5 separate regions of the Homo sapiens genome follow, and regions 1, 2, 3 and 5 are each linked to region 4. Evidence: promoter capture Hi-C in 16 types of primary human blood cells and fetal thymus (Javierre and others, 2016). All regions are on one chromosome and are shown on one strand. Each heading gives the region's core, a stretch centred on a gene start or on the middle of the fragment in contact. The rest is flanking DNA. Distances are from core to core; before and after follow the strand shown. Region 1 overlaps RNF145 (ring finger protein 145). Region 2 overlaps RNF145 (ring finger protein 145). Region 3 has its middle 27 kb from the start of LINC02202. Region 4 holds the start of FNDC9 (fibronectin type III domain containing 9). Region 5 has its middle 46 kb from the start of LINC02202.

Region 1 (3,137 bases), core at 18-2,517, 1.8 Mb before region 4:
GGCAAAGAATGTGAACATTTCACCAAATAATTGCAAATGTTTTCATATACTTATTGATAATGTTCAGTGCTGTTAGTAACCAACAAAATGCCAATTTAAAAAATTTGGGAAATATTCCCTGTTCTTCCCATCTCTAAATTATACTCACTATGGCAAGTTAATAGAAAAATAGCCACATTATACACTGGTAAATTGTTGCTGGAGGGCAGTCTTGACAGTGTGTCAAAGTCTTTAAAAATGTTTTTTTCTGATTCAGTAATTCCTAGCCTAAGAGAATATTAGGAAATGTGTTCCAAGTAGTTTATACAAGGATGTCATAATGTAAAAGCTTATTCATACAAAGCATTTTATAATTATGGAATATTTGGAAAGGGCTAAATGCAAATATCATGTCACATACATTCAGTGTACCCCAGGGTGTTCTTAGGACTACCTTTGGGTTGTGGGATTATAAGAGACTGAGAGTTTCCCATTTTGTTCTTTGTATTTCTGTGTTTAATGTAATGATCATGCGTAATCCCCAGTGAGAAGAATTTATTTAGTTTTTAGTTTTAACTTATGATTTAGTTATTTGGGGCAGTTTACTTGGCCCTCCAAAAATAAAGATTAAAAAATTATCAGAACAAATATTGTTGCAGTATGATCTTGAACAAGTAATTATATCTCTTGGATTTTATGCTTTCACCTATAGACCAGAACAGTTAAATATTGCGTACCTTTGGAAAAGAAGTTATGTATAAACATTAGCAACTGAATTGTCACAATACTGAATTAGACATTGTTTAAAGTTTTCTTCATATTACACATGGCATCACAGACGACCAGTGGAGATTTATGCTGCTCTTTCCAGATCAGCCCTACAGAATTAGTATTCAAAATTCACAGAACATGTGAATATGTAATTATAGTCAGATGAAGTTTAAGTTTGATTTAAAATATTATCTACGAGATTTTAGTTAGACTTCTTCAAAAGTTGTGTTATTATCCTTATCAACAGTGTTTTTTGTTTGTTTTTATTTTGTGGATGCCAAATACTCAAAATTAAATGTATTCTATTCCCTATTTTAGGTCAGTTGGTGGTGTGTACTTTATGCTCCTGTGTCATGAAAACAAAGCAGATTTGGCTGTTTTCAGCTCACATGCTTCCTCTGCTAGCACGACTCTGCCTTGTTCCTTTGGAGACAATTGTTATCATCAATAAATTTGCTATGATTTTTACTGGATTGGAAGTTCTCTATTTTCTTGGGTCTAATCTTTTGGTACCTTATAACCTTGCTAAATCTGCATACAGAGAATTGGTTCAGGTAAGACTGCTGACAACCACAAACAGGTAGATAAAATTCTACATAAATGTTAAGTACATTAAAGTTATAGTTCATTTTTATTTCACAGTTATGGTACCATTCATTTTTGCAGTTTCAAAACAGCTGCTATTTTCAGCCCAATTAGGAGCATCTGAAAGATTCTTGATTATGTTCTATTGAGAAGGCAGTAAAGTGAAGTGGTTCTCTTAAAGCAGATTTATCTGAGATCGAACCCTGATGCTGCTGTTCACTAGCTGTGTAACCTTGTGATAATTGCGTTACTTTCTGTAAAACGGAGCTAATAATGAAAGCTGTGCTTTCCTCATAGAGTTCTGTGAGATTTAAATGAGTTTAGTACCAGGCAGACAATGTTCCATATGTGTTAGCTATTGTAATGAAGACAAAAATAATAAAGAATTGAATACCTATAAGTCAAATCCTGCTTTTTCCTTCTGATTATAGTCCTACTGTGACTATAGTTTCTTCCCTTTGTGTGCCTAATTTAAACAGAAAAGTTAAATAGTTCTGGGTTATAATATGATAGATTTCATTTAGATATAGTACTTGAATTGACTTTGCCAACATAACATGCTTTTTGTAAAAGTTTCTTCCCTACTTTTTTCAGCCTTTGCTCTAAGATAAATTACTCCCAGATACAAACAATACACATTTGGGAAATAAATGTTTCTGTTTGGTTTAATTGATAGTTTGTAATATATAAAATAGATTTTAACCTGACATTGGTATAAAAAGAGAGTGTTAAAATGTCACTGTCTTCCACCTCTTGACTGTGTCCTTAAGGTACAGGAAGCTCTCAGATAGAACAAACTGATAACAGCTAAGTGAAGTATTCTCTTGTGGCCCCAGGGGCAGATCTTTGAGAATACTTTCTCTAAGCTTTTGGCCTTAGCCTGATTCTATCTTCGTCTTACACAGTGATTAACTTGGGCAGTTTTCCCAGGAGTAGATCTTCCAGAAAAGGGATTATTTCTACAGTCAGTGAAGAGTGGCTTCATGGGGAAGCAGGGCAGGAAGGGTTATAGTTGTATTCAGGGTAATAATGACAAATTTAAGATACATATTTTTTCTTTGAATTCAGTCTTATGAGGGTTATCTTTGTTTGTAATAAATAATGAATATTCAGTAAATACTTATTGAATATTAAATATTTATTGAATAACCTCAGCCTTCATTTTTTAATGTCATGTTTAGTTGGTTGCCATAAGATTCATACATCAACTAGATGTAGTTGTTGGAAATATAGGTTATAAAATGCGTGACCAGGAAAGAATCAGATAAGCAAGAAATGGAAACAGACAGGTTTTTTTAGTGGTCTGTTTCTTGAATGGAAAGGAAGAAAAATATTCTCTGCCTCGTAATGATGAGTTTACCTGATAATAATTTTGCAGCTAGTTGGGCAGTTTCCTTTTTCTTTTAATCTTTTGTCACTGGGGAAAATAGAAGTTAATAGACTGGGTTGTAGAAAAAGCCTTTGCTTTACTGATGAAAGAATTTTAAATTTAGAATAATCTGCAAGTCAATTTATTTTAACTTAATACTTAAAGATGTTTATACCTTATTGAAACATTCTGGTATCACATTGAGAGATTCCAGCAAGACCAGCTGACTGCTAGATACTGGTTTTGTAAGCTGTCCAGCAGAATTCCTGCTGTGTCACCAGGGTCTGGTCCCTGACATAGTAACTCTAGAAACTTGGTTACACCTATGCTCTTAGATTGAATCAGATTCTGTGATTGATTTTTCCTAATCAGTTTCATAAGAAGAGTGTTTTATAAACTGGAAAACTAATTTAGTGAGTTGCAGATTATTAAG
Region 2 (2,738 bases), core at 87-2,586, 1.9 Mb before region 4:
GATTAGAAAAAATAATAATATCATGGGCTTTGAGAAATTTAGATTCCTCAGTGGTTGGTTTGCAATAAATATTAAAGGTTAGAGATTTTATTTTTCAGTGCATTTTTCCTTCTTAGGACATGATATTTAGTTCTGATTTTCACAATAATATTTTTTCTTATGTAGGAAAATTATGAAAATGATCTTGTTCATGTGAAATAATCAGAATTGCAGTACTTATCTATAAAAATGTTAAATCTATATTATTGGCAGGCTATATATATAAAACATTTGGGTTATGGGAATGGTTGATATATGATTATTGAAAAGCTTTTATTGATAGTGTGCCAAGTTGGGTTGCCTTTAGCTTTTTGACTATCTGAACTAGGAAGCTATGAAAATTGGAGGGTAAGATGGAAATACTGACAAATATTTAACCATAGCATAGCAATCTGTCACTATAATTTTCTGCAGAAATAAATGTTTTCGTTTGTCCTGTAATGTCTGAAATTACTGCTAAAGCTGGAAATGTGTTTAGCTTTCTCAGCAAAATTCTTAAAAGGATATTGTCAGAGCCAACAATCCAGAATTATCTTTACTCTTTAAATTGTTCTTTACCCACTTTTGTTTGCTTTTTTTTTTTTTTTTTTTTTTTTGAGACGGAGTCTAGCTCAGTTGCCTAGGCTGGAGTGCAGTATTGTGATCTCTGCTCACTGCAACCTCTGCATCCCAGGTTCAAGCAATTCTTCTGCCCTAGCCTCCTGAGTAGCTGGGACTACAGGTGTGCACCACCATGCCCGGCTAATTTTTGTATTTTTAGTACAGACGGAGTTTCACCATATTGGCTAGGCTGGTCTCGAACTCGTGACCTCATGATCTGCCTGCTTCGGCTTCCCAAAGTGCTGGGATTACAGGCGTGTGCCACTGCGCCCGGCCTTGTTTGCCCTATTTTATATTTTTTTGGATTAATTTGAAGTTCTACCATATAAAGCAGTATGGCATTGAATTGTCCCTTTAAATAGTAAATTGTCCTGATAACTGCCTTTCATTTCCTCCTCCCCCTGCCCCCCCCCACTACTTATCATGGTCTGTGCAGAGACAGGGGCTGCAGACTCAATGCCTGGCGTCTTCCATGTGCCTGCTTATCTGTGTATCAAGGGAAGAATTTGATGAACACTTGAAGGCAGATTATGGGAATTTTAGACCATATTTAACTTTAAAGATTCAAGGAAATGATATTGTAAATAATGTTCCCTCTACCTGTATCTACATCATGAGTTCTCTGGATTGTAAATTTAGCACTTCAATTTTGATTGTAAGTGAATAAGGAAAAGCATAGAGTACAAGATGCTGCAAACTAAACGTGCAGTTATCAAGTTTTTATTGAATTGCTTAGGCTTTTTCATAGAGTAAATATTCAAAATTCACCCTCTTATGAGCTACATAAATCATAGTTTTATTGGAGTGAGTGAATTTTTCAAGTTAATTTTATACAAGTTACAGTAGTCTTACAGAGTGTTTTGTTCCTAGATTTGGAGTTAGTGGCCTTTTAAAAAATTAGTTTTGAGGCCAGAACATTTAATCAGAATTATAAGATTGGACAGAACTGAATGGGTCAATGTGAAAACACAATACAGAGGTTATTTTATGAATATCTAAAAATAGTAGTTGTGGCTGAGAAGTAGTATACGTTCTCACATAGTTTTGTACAGTGTGTGACAACCTATTAGATTCGTGAAAGGGTATCTAAAAGCGATTTGTGTTGACTTTTTATTTTTATATATTGTGTCTTCTGAATTTTAGGTCTTCTCCAAGAAAAAAAAAAAGAAAAAAAAAAACAACATGGCTGCAAAGGAGAAACTGGAGGCAGTGTTAAATGTGGCCCTGAGGGTGCCAAGCATCATGCTGTTGGATGTCCTGTACAGATGGGATGTCAGCTCCTTTTTCCAGCAGATCCAAAGAAGTAGCCTTAGTAATAACCCTCTTTTCCAGTATAAGTATTTGGCTCTTAATATGCATTATGTAGGTGAGTGTCTACATCACATTTTCTAATCTTCTAGTGAGCATTCTGATTTATGTCTTAGTATCTTTTTGAATTTGGGTAAAATGAAGTTCATTTTCATTAAGATGATAGTGATATAGTTATTGATGAGTGTTTATGAATCTTGATAGTTTTGTCTTATCATTGCACATGAATTATTAAGGCTACAAGAAAGTAAGCAGTATTGGATTTATTTTACTGGATAAAACTGGAAGGCAGAAGAAAACATTCTAGATTTTAATATGATGAAATATAAACAATGAGAAATACTTTTAGAGACATTTGGCCCCTTCTAATTTGTCCTTGTTTTGGGGTTTGGTAGTAATTCAGAAAGTAAGCTTTTTAAAATGCAACATTCTTTATTGTTCCCTGAGATAAACGAAAACATTAACATCAGCTGAAGATAAAGTGTTCAGTTAAATGAAATTTGGGAAATGATACTATAATACTTTGTTCCATAAAAAAAATCCTCCTGGAACTATAATTTTTTTTTTTTTTGCTTGAATCCCCTTTCAAGAAAAATGGAACTATCATTGATATGCTATGGGGTTAGTGGTAAAAATAATGATAAGAGATTGAAGAAATTAAAGTCAAGAAATACAAGCATGAAACAGATAAAATTTACCTAGAATAAAAATCATGATCCTTACTTTTTAGGTTTTGGTTTATTTGTAATGTATATAGCAATATATTTTATTAATGTTGTGATTGCAGAGTT
Region 3 (2,814 bases), core at 305-2,804, 1.8 Mb before region 4:
TTGTCAGTTAAAGTGGCAATCTTAGTAACAAGTGGATAGGGAGAGCCAGCAGCTCTGCTAGTCTGAGATTATGGCCCTATTTGGGACAAGCGGTGGACCGAGAGGCTTCCAGGGATTTAACAGGGACGCACAGATATGAGATAGCCCCAGGGGCTTGGTAATCTCCCCACATATCCTGTGTTGACGAGAGGCTGTGCTCATGTGCTACAGAGATAAGCTTGAACCCAGGCCATTCACACATGCCTGGCCAATAGAACCTGCACACATGAACAGAAGAGAAATAAGAAAGCCCAACAGAAAATAAAAGTCAAGCCTGACTTAAAAACTTCCTAAGTTTTGAATGTACTCCCCACTCCACACATAGCCCATTAGCAAAGAGTGAAAGCCTCACTGGCTTGAGGGGTTTGAGTGCTGTTGCTGACCATTCTTAACCTGAACTCTAAGCTGTCAAGGGCAATTCCTAGGCATCCAGGCTTTAAAATGTAAACAAAGATAAAAACTGATCAAAGTCAACAGTGGCCACACGCTTTATAGATTTAGCCCAGGCAAGTTACTAAGTTAAAAAACAAACAAACAAACAAACAAACAAACAACTCTAGGAGGAAAAAATCACAATCCAGAGTGGCTGCAGTATTAGCTAAGATGTTCAATATTCAATATAAAATTACAAGGCATATAAAGAAACCAAAAGGATGACCAAACTGAGTCTACTGAAACTGTCTCTGAGTGTTTCCAGATAATGAATTTAGAAGACAAAAATTTCAAAGTAGCTATTATAAATGTGTTCAAAGAGCTGAAGAAAACAATTTTTAAAGATTGAAGCAAAACATGACAACAATGACTGAATAGAGAATCTCAATAAAGAGACAAAAATTATTTAAAACAAATGAAAATTCTGAAGTTAAAAATTCTAACTGAAATGAAAAGTTTACTACAGAAGCTTAACTGTAATTCTGAGCTAGCAAAAGAAAGAACTAGGGCTGAACGTGGTGGTTCACGCCCGTAATGCCAACACTTTGGGATGCTGAGACAGGCAGATCACTTCGGGCCAGGAGTTCAAGACCAGCCTGGCCAACATGGTGAAACTCTGTCTCTACTAAAAATACAAAAAAAAGTGGCCAGGCATGGTGGCATGCGCCTGTAATCTCAGCTACTCGGGAGGCTGAGGCAGGAGAATTGCTTGAACCTGAGAGACAGAGGTTGCAGTGAGCTGAGATCATACCACTGCACACCAGCCAGGGTGACAGAGTGAGACCTTAAAAAAAAAAAGAAAAGAAAAAAGAAAGAAAGAAAGAACCAGGAATTTGAAAAGAGAGCAGTGAAAATTACCGAATCTGAAAAATAGGGAGAAAAAAGATGAAAGAGAAATAGACAATCCTATAGACCTGTGGAATAATATTAAATGTACCAACCTAGGTGTAATGGGAGTCTCAGAAAGAGATGGAAAGGAAAATGAGATAGAAAAACACCTAAAAGTAATGGCCAAAAACATTTCAAATTTGATGAAAATATATTAATGTACAGATCCAAGAACTTCAAAGAATTTCAAGTAGGATATACACAAAAAGATCCTCCTTAGACACCTCAGAATTAACCTGTTGAAAAATAAATACAAAGAGAAAATCTCAAAAACATAAAAAAACCCCACAACACAGAGGAACAAGAATCCTAGTAACATCTGATTTCCTATCAGAAAGAATGGAGGCCAGAAAAGCAGTAGAAAGCTATATTCAAAGTGCTGATAGGAAAATTTTTTAAAAGCCTGCAAACTTAGAATTCTACATCAAACAAAATTATCCTTCAAAAGTGAATACAAAAATAAAGATGTTCCGGAAATAAATGAATATTGAAAGAATTCCTCACTAGCAGAGCTGCTTTACAAAAATACAGAAAAGGTCTGTTAGGCTGAAAAAAAGTGACAACAGAAAATAGCTGTAATCCTAAAGAATAAGCGAAGAATGTCAGAAATAACAAATATGTGGGAAATTGTAAAAGTCTCTAGAAATAAGTTTTTCTCATTTTTCTTTTAATTTCTTTAAATGATACAAGACTGTATAAGGCAATACTTATAACAATCTAGTTGTATAGAGTTAATGTAGAGACATAATCTATACAACATAATAGCACTAATGAAGGGGGAAAAAAGAGATATATTAGAGCAAGCTTATCCACCCCATGGTCTGTGGGCCACATACAGCCCAGGATGGCTTTAAATGTGGCCCAACACAAATTTGTAAGCTTTCTTAAAACATTATGAGATTTATGCATGGAATTTTTTTAAAGCTCATTAGCTATCATTAGTGTTATTGGATTTTATGTGTGGCCCAAGACACTTTGTCTTCCAATGTGGCCCAGGGAAGTCAAAAAATTGGAAACCCCTGTATTAGAGCAATGTTTCTATATTTTACCAGAAATGACTTAGTATTATTCTGAAGTAGATTGTGATAAGTTGAAGTGCATATTGTAAACCCTAATACAACCACTAAGAAAACACCTAAATGACATATAGTAAAATGTACACAGAGGAATTAAAAATGACACATTAAAAATATTTATTTAACACAAAAGGAGGCAGTAAAGCAGGAACAAAGGAAATACATGAGACAAACAACACACAGCAAAATGGCTAACATAAATGCAAAGATTATCAACAGTTACATTAAACATGATTGGACTAAACACTCACTAAATACTCCACTCAAAAGGCAGAGATTGTCAGACTGAATGAAAAAGCAAGAGCCAATTATATGCTATCTATAAGAGATCTGTTTTAGGTTCAAAGGCACAAATAGGTTAAAAGAAAAGGATGGAAAT
Region 4 (2,736 bases), core at 28-2,527:
GAACAGGAAGGGATGGAACCTCAAAGCCAGACGGCCCTTTATGAGAAAAGGGGAGGCAAGCAGTCTGGATTCTTGAAAGGAAAGGAACGCTGGGGATGATTCAATCCAGGAGTAGCAAACAGTTTCCATTTCTGGCGTCAACTCCAACTGATTGATTGGGAAGCAGTTTCTTGGGACGCTTGTGTTCAGAGGAACTCTGGGGCTGTTTCTGCACCCAGCTGGAAGCAGTGCTGCATTAGATTCCTAGGGTTGCTATCACAAATTACCATAAATGTGGCAGCTTAACATGACAGAAATTTATTCTCTCACAGTTCTGGAGACCAGAAGCCTGAAATCAAGGCTCTCGCAGAACCATGCCCTCTCCAAGGCTCTAGGGGAGAATGTTTCCTTGCCTTCCCAGCTGCTGATGGCTCCCGGTGTTCCTTGGCTGATGGCAGCATCCTTCCACTCTCTGCCTCTGTTTTCCCTTGGCTTCTTCCCCTTGAGTCTCTCTGTCTTTTCTCTTACAAAGACATTAGTCATTGGATTTAGGGCTCACCCTTAAATCCAGGAAGATTTCATCTTGAGATCCTTAACTAGTTATATCTACGAAGGCTCTATTTCTAAATCAGGTCACATCCTAAGGTTCTGGATGGATATGTATTTTGGGGGGGCATTATTCAACCCAGTGAGAGTGCCATGATGGTTTAGCAAGCTTGACAGGGGTTCAGGGCTGTGCAGGGATAGGGCTCAGGTCTTCTGCCTTCTGATCTGCCATCCTGATGTAGCCCAAGCCCACAGCTTTACAGATGATGGTGGAACTGAGACTCAGACAATAAAAATAAAAGGGTCTTGACCAGTACCATATAACTATGTAATGGCACATGAGTCAAGAATAAAGAAAGATGAAGATAAAGAGGTGGGGTAGGCAGTTGGGATGGGGAAGTGTAGGGGTGGGAGGGGATGAAGATGAATATTACTGCTTTGGTTGTGGAATAACTGAGAAAAGCATCTTTGCATTTAAAACCATTGGCCAAAGAGGATCTAGATGGGACAAGAAAATAATAATCAGCCAACTGGGGAGAAAATGTAGGAGTGTTAGAAGAATTAGTACTGCACTGGGGACCAGTTTTCAGGGGATCATCTGCCCTTTTTCAGCCAAAGGAATGAGAGCTCCTCTCACTGGGCAAAAGCCTTTCCAGGCTGGTCCCTGAAAGCATCGTGCGTACAGATGCCTGCTGGTTGCCATGGTGAATGATGCTGATCTGAAGAAATGAATAATGTGAGCATTAGGGGCGGCAGTGGGATTACTCAGTGTTGAGAGAAACAACACGGAAAGCCCAGAGCAGAGGAGGGAGAAGGCCCCATTCTCTCAGCTTTAATCTACTGCACCTCGGAGGGCAGAGCTCTAACCAGACACGCTGCAAGCATCAGGTAAGACATATAGATGGCTCTTCTTGGAAATGGAAATGGCTTCTTTTCACACTCTGCTTGGAGAAGGGCCGGGCAAATGAATAGTTAAAAATAGGGGAGAATTTAGAAACGGAAACAGAGGAAGAAAAATCAATAAGGGAGACGGACCTGGTCCTAAAAGGTGAGGATGCTATTTGCGTCTTGACAGAAAGCTCTTAAAAATGTCTGCTGAGGTAATTCCATCTGTACAGACAGCTAGTGGCAGATAGGAAGCCAAGAGAACATTTGTGCGTGACAAGAAACAGGATTCCTGATTACTCCTGATGGAAAGGTTTTACACAGGTGGCTGCCTATAATGAATTAAGCTCTTTTCATCGTGGTCGAAAGTGTATTTATAGTGATGTGTGGTGTGGGGAGGATGAGTGTGTAGAGGACACCAAGCTAGGAAACATAAACATTCGGTCTCCTTCATGATGACCTTCCCTGGAAGGGTCTGAGCACATCCGTCTCATCCCTTTCGTTCCCTATTTACTGGGAAGAAATATTCAGCCACATAGAAAGACACTATTCACCTTCCTGAGTATCTTAGTTCACTGTTACCCTTACAGAAGAAAAACAAGGATTAAGAAACTACTCAATGCTGTGCACCTTTCTGCAGCTCCACTCCTGGAGGAAAATGGGCACAAACACAAGAGGATGGGGGAAAGCAGAGGTGAGAGAAAGGCAGGTCATAATAGCCATTGGTTTGGCTTAATATCCAATGCAGGCGAAAATCCAGTTGACAGCTGTTTACTATGTCACTGCAACCCAAAATGAAACCTACGGGGTTTCATGTGAGGGAGGAGAGGCGGAAGACAAAGCAGGGTGAGACTGTTATGTGAATATGCGTAGGCTGACTATGACTGTCTCTGTATTTCTGATCAGGGGCAATCAGTAGAGGGAACTGCATGAGAGAAACTAAAATACTTGAAGATGGCTCTCTCTTATCAAAGCGGGGCCTGGCAATCTAAAGAGGGCTCATTTGATTTGTCTGGAAAAACAGCAACTGGGTCTCAGTCCTGGCACCTCATTTTGCGATAACGTCTGTAACTAAACCCGGCAGCCTTGCATTAGGAAATGTAGTGGTTAGGCGGCACTAAGTCCTTTTTCTACGTATTAGCGGTGTGACATCAGGTTGCTCATCCGTAAAATGGGAATCTAGCTCAGAGGATGTGATGAAGAATAAAGGAAATTAATTACTGCCTGTGAATCATCTAGCATGACAAGTGACATAGCAACCACTTACTGTGAGTGGTTATTACCATGATTAACATTCATAATAACAGCAGAATTAAATAGTGGTAG
Region 5 (2,921 bases), core at 290-2,789, 1.8 Mb before region 4:
AGGTTATTTCCATATCTTAGCTATTGTGAATAATGCTGCAATAAACACAGATATGCAGATACCTCTTTGGGCTACTGATCTCATTTCCTTTGGATATATACCCAGATAGGATTGCTGGATGATGTGGTAGTTCTATTTTTAATTTTTTGAGGAATCTCCATACTGTTTTTCATATGGCTGTGCAAGTTTACATTCCCATCAACGGATTACAAGGGCTCCCTTTTCTCCATATTCTTGGTAACTCTTGTTATCTTCTGACTTTTTTTTTTTTTTTTTGAGACGGAGTCTCACTCTTGTTGCCTAGGCTGGAGTACAGTGGCGCGATCTCGGCTCACTGCAACCTCTGCCTCCCAGGTTCAAGCAATTCTCTCCCCCACGCTTCCCCAGTAGCTGGGATTACAGGCACTAGCCACCACACCAGGCTAACATTTGTATTTTTAGTAGAGACGGGGTTTCACCGTGTTGGCCACGCTGGTCTCAAACTCCTGACTTCAGGTGATCTGTCTGCCTCGGCCTCCCAAAGTGCTGGGATTACAGACATGAGCCACCGTGCCCAGCCTCTGACTTTTTGATAATAGAGATTCTATTATAACAGGTGTGAGATGATATCTCATTGTGGTTTTGATTTTCATTTATCTGATAATTAGCAAACTATATCCTTTTTACTGATAGTCTCCAAGAAAAGAATAGCTCACACTCTGTGGCCTTCTAATCCCTTTATGAATAACTCATGAACTCCTTAGAACCCCCTGTAGGCATTATCATCTACATATCCAGATGAGGAAGCTGAGGCAGAGTTTGATGTCTTGCTCAAAGTCCACAGCAGTAAGTTCTTGCACCTACACAGTCTGGCTTCAGAATCCACTTAAGCAATACATTACAGTGTTTATTCACAGACACGTATTTTTTGGATTTTTCATTCTTGCACTTAAAATTGGAGGCGGTAGTAGGGAAAGCATCTTAGGAAGTAACTCCTGGATGCTTTTATGTGCTGGGGACTTCACCAGTTTCATTCATTCAGTAGCTGCCACAAGGTGACCCCCACCCCGAAGACCTCCCACCCCTGTTCTTTGATATAGACACCTGGCATTTTCTCCAGAGTCCCACCCGCAAGCCCTCCCTGTTCCCAGCTAGTAGCTTGCTTTCCCTACGTCTCCATGGCATCTCACCAATACACATTTGTAAGTAGCCCTTAGGAACCAGATGCAGACTAACACCAGACATCACCCCTGCCCTCACAGAACTCTCATGGGGCACTTGGAAGACTCACAGTTAAATGATAACAATAAAGTGTGATTATTTTTTTAAAGGAGCACCAAACTTTTCTACCTAACCATGGCTGTTGGCAAAGTCCACTGCTCGTAAATTCAGTCACTAAGGATGGATTTAAGCTTGTCGCTCCCAGATTCCTTTTCACCAGATGTGGGAAAACCTTCAAATCTTTACAACTGAGTATACTGCCTTGCCTTCTGTGAGGCATACCCGCCGCTCCCCCAAAACCAGCTTTATCAACACTGTGGAGACAGGTTCTCAGACTCAAGAGAGAGTCCCTTAGCATAGTGGTTCTCAAACTTTGCTGCACATTGAGATCACCTGGGGTCCTACACCCAGACATTCTAATTTTGTTGGGCTAGGGACGGGAATTCTTAGAAGCTCCCTTAGTGATTCCAGCGTGCACCAAAGCTTGGGAATCACAGTGTCCCAAGAGATCAGCACTTTGCTGTTCTGTTGCCGTTGACACCTGAGATAGATCTTCTCGCGACAGTGTGCCTGGTTTGTAGCATGATTTCCTCCACTCTGAACCTTGGTATTCTCAACAACCAATCTTCTCTTAAATCAGCATCAGGCAAGTTCAATGACTTTCATGCTGCTGCTAATTTTGGGGCTCAGACCTGGCGAACTGGCATCTGTGAGCTGAATCTGACTGGCAAACTTCTTTTGTTTTGCTTGGATGGTGATTCTAAAAAAATTGAACATTTAAAAATCAGGCTGTGTATGGTAGTTCATACTTCTATGAACCACTATGCTAAGTATGAACTCCCACTTTGGGAGGCTGAGGTGGAAGTATCACTTGAGGCCAGAAGTTCAAGACCAGGCTGGGCCACACAGGGAGACCTGGTCTCTGTAAAAAATGCAAAAATTAGCTGGTGTGGTGGTGCACACCTGTGGTTCCATCTACTTGGGAGGCTGAGGGAATTGCTTGAGCCCATGACGTTGAGGGAGGCCGCAATGAGCTGTGATCACACCACTGCACTCCAGCCTGGGTGACACAGTGAGACACTGTCTCGAAAAAATAAAAAAGGTGAGATTTCACACAAAAAGTATGGATTCCTGGATTCTTTGGAAAAATTAGAAGGTCTCAGCCCATTTCCACCATAATATTCATCAGGAGCCCAGGGGCTTCTGCCCTTTAACAGGCACTTACTCCCTCCCACCCACCCAGTTCACTAGGTCCTACCCAGATCCCAACATTTATGTTATCCGTGACCCCTGAAGATCATTATTCCTTTTTGGTAGTTGCTTTTTTTTATTATTATTATACTTTAAGTTTTAGGGTATATGTGCACAATGTGCAGGTTTGATACATAGGTATACATGTGCCACGTTGGTTTGCTGCACACATCAACTTGTCATTTACATTAGGTATTTCTCCTAATGCTATCCCTCCCCCAGCCACCCACCCCCTGACAGGCCCTGGCATTTGATGTCCCCCACCCTGTGTCCAAGTGTTCTCATTGTTCAATTCCCACCTATGAGTGAGAACATGCGCTGTTTTGTTTTCTGTCCTTGTGATAGTTTGCTGAGAATGATGGTTTCCAGCTTCATCCATGTCCCTGCAAAGGACATGAAGTCATCCTTTTTTATGGCTGCATAGTATTCCATGGTGTATATGTGCCACATTTTCTTAATCCAGTCTATCA

The links. Contacts are between HindIII fragments. The CHiCAGO score rates a contact against its expected background, and 5 or more counts as called.
Region 1: a contact is called between a fragment that was not itself captured here and the fragment with the promoter of FNDC9 in region 4, in 2 of 17 cell types (neutrophils and naive B cells). The highest score is 5.7, in neutrophils.
Region 2: a fragment that was not itself captured here is called in contact with the fragment with the promoter of FNDC9 in region 4 in 1 of 17 cell types (neutrophils); the score reaches 6.1 in neutrophils.
Region 3: a fragment that was not itself captured here is called in contact with the fragment with the promoter of FNDC9 in region 4 in 1 of 17 cell types (M2 macrophages); the score reaches 6.5 in M2 macrophages.
Region 5: a fragment that was not itself captured here is called in contact with the fragment with the promoter of FNDC9 in region 4 in 1 of 17 cell types (naive B cells); the score reaches 5.6 in naive B cells.

Annotation. Positions count from the first base shown.
Region 1 is chr5:159,174,799-159,177,935 of GRCh38, reverse strand. It overlaps RNF145 (ring finger protein 145), which reads left to right. Exons shown (of 11, transcript NM_001199383.2): 5 at 1,069-1,304. Among named protein-coding and RNA genes, the nearest start is that of RNF145, 33 kb to the left of the region's middle. The HindIII fragment of the contact is 1,873 bases long and covers 331-2,203 here.
Region 2 is chr5:159,202,701-159,205,438 of GRCh38, reverse strand. It overlaps RNF145 (ring finger protein 145), which reads left to right. Exons shown (of 11, transcript NM_001199383.2): 2 at 1,783-2,005. The coding sequence starts at 1,822. Among named protein-coding and RNA genes, the nearest start is that of RNF145, 5.5 kb to the left of the region's middle. The HindIII fragment of the contact is 2,049 bases long and covers 312-2,360 here.
Region 3 is chr5:159,125,588-159,128,401 of GRCh38, reverse strand. No RefSeq gene overlaps it. Among named protein-coding and RNA genes, the nearest start is that of LINC02202, 27 kb to the right of the region's middle. The HindIII fragment of the contact is 1,223 bases long and covers 943-2,165 here.
Region 4 is chr5:157,344,218-157,346,953 of GRCh38, reverse strand. FNDC9 (fibronectin type III domain containing 9) reads left to right here and starts at 1,277. Exons shown (of 2, transcript NM_001001343.4): 1 at 1,277-1,413. The region is part of intron 23 of CYFIP2 (cytoplasmic FMR1 interacting protein 2); the gene reads right to left. The HindIII fragment of the contact is 2,139 bases long and covers 697-2,736 here.
Region 5 is chr5:159,145,301-159,148,221 of GRCh38, reverse strand. No RefSeq gene overlaps it. Among named protein-coding and RNA genes, the nearest start is that of LINC02202, 46 kb to the right of the region's middle. The HindIII fragment of the contact is 292 bases long and covers 1,394-1,685 here.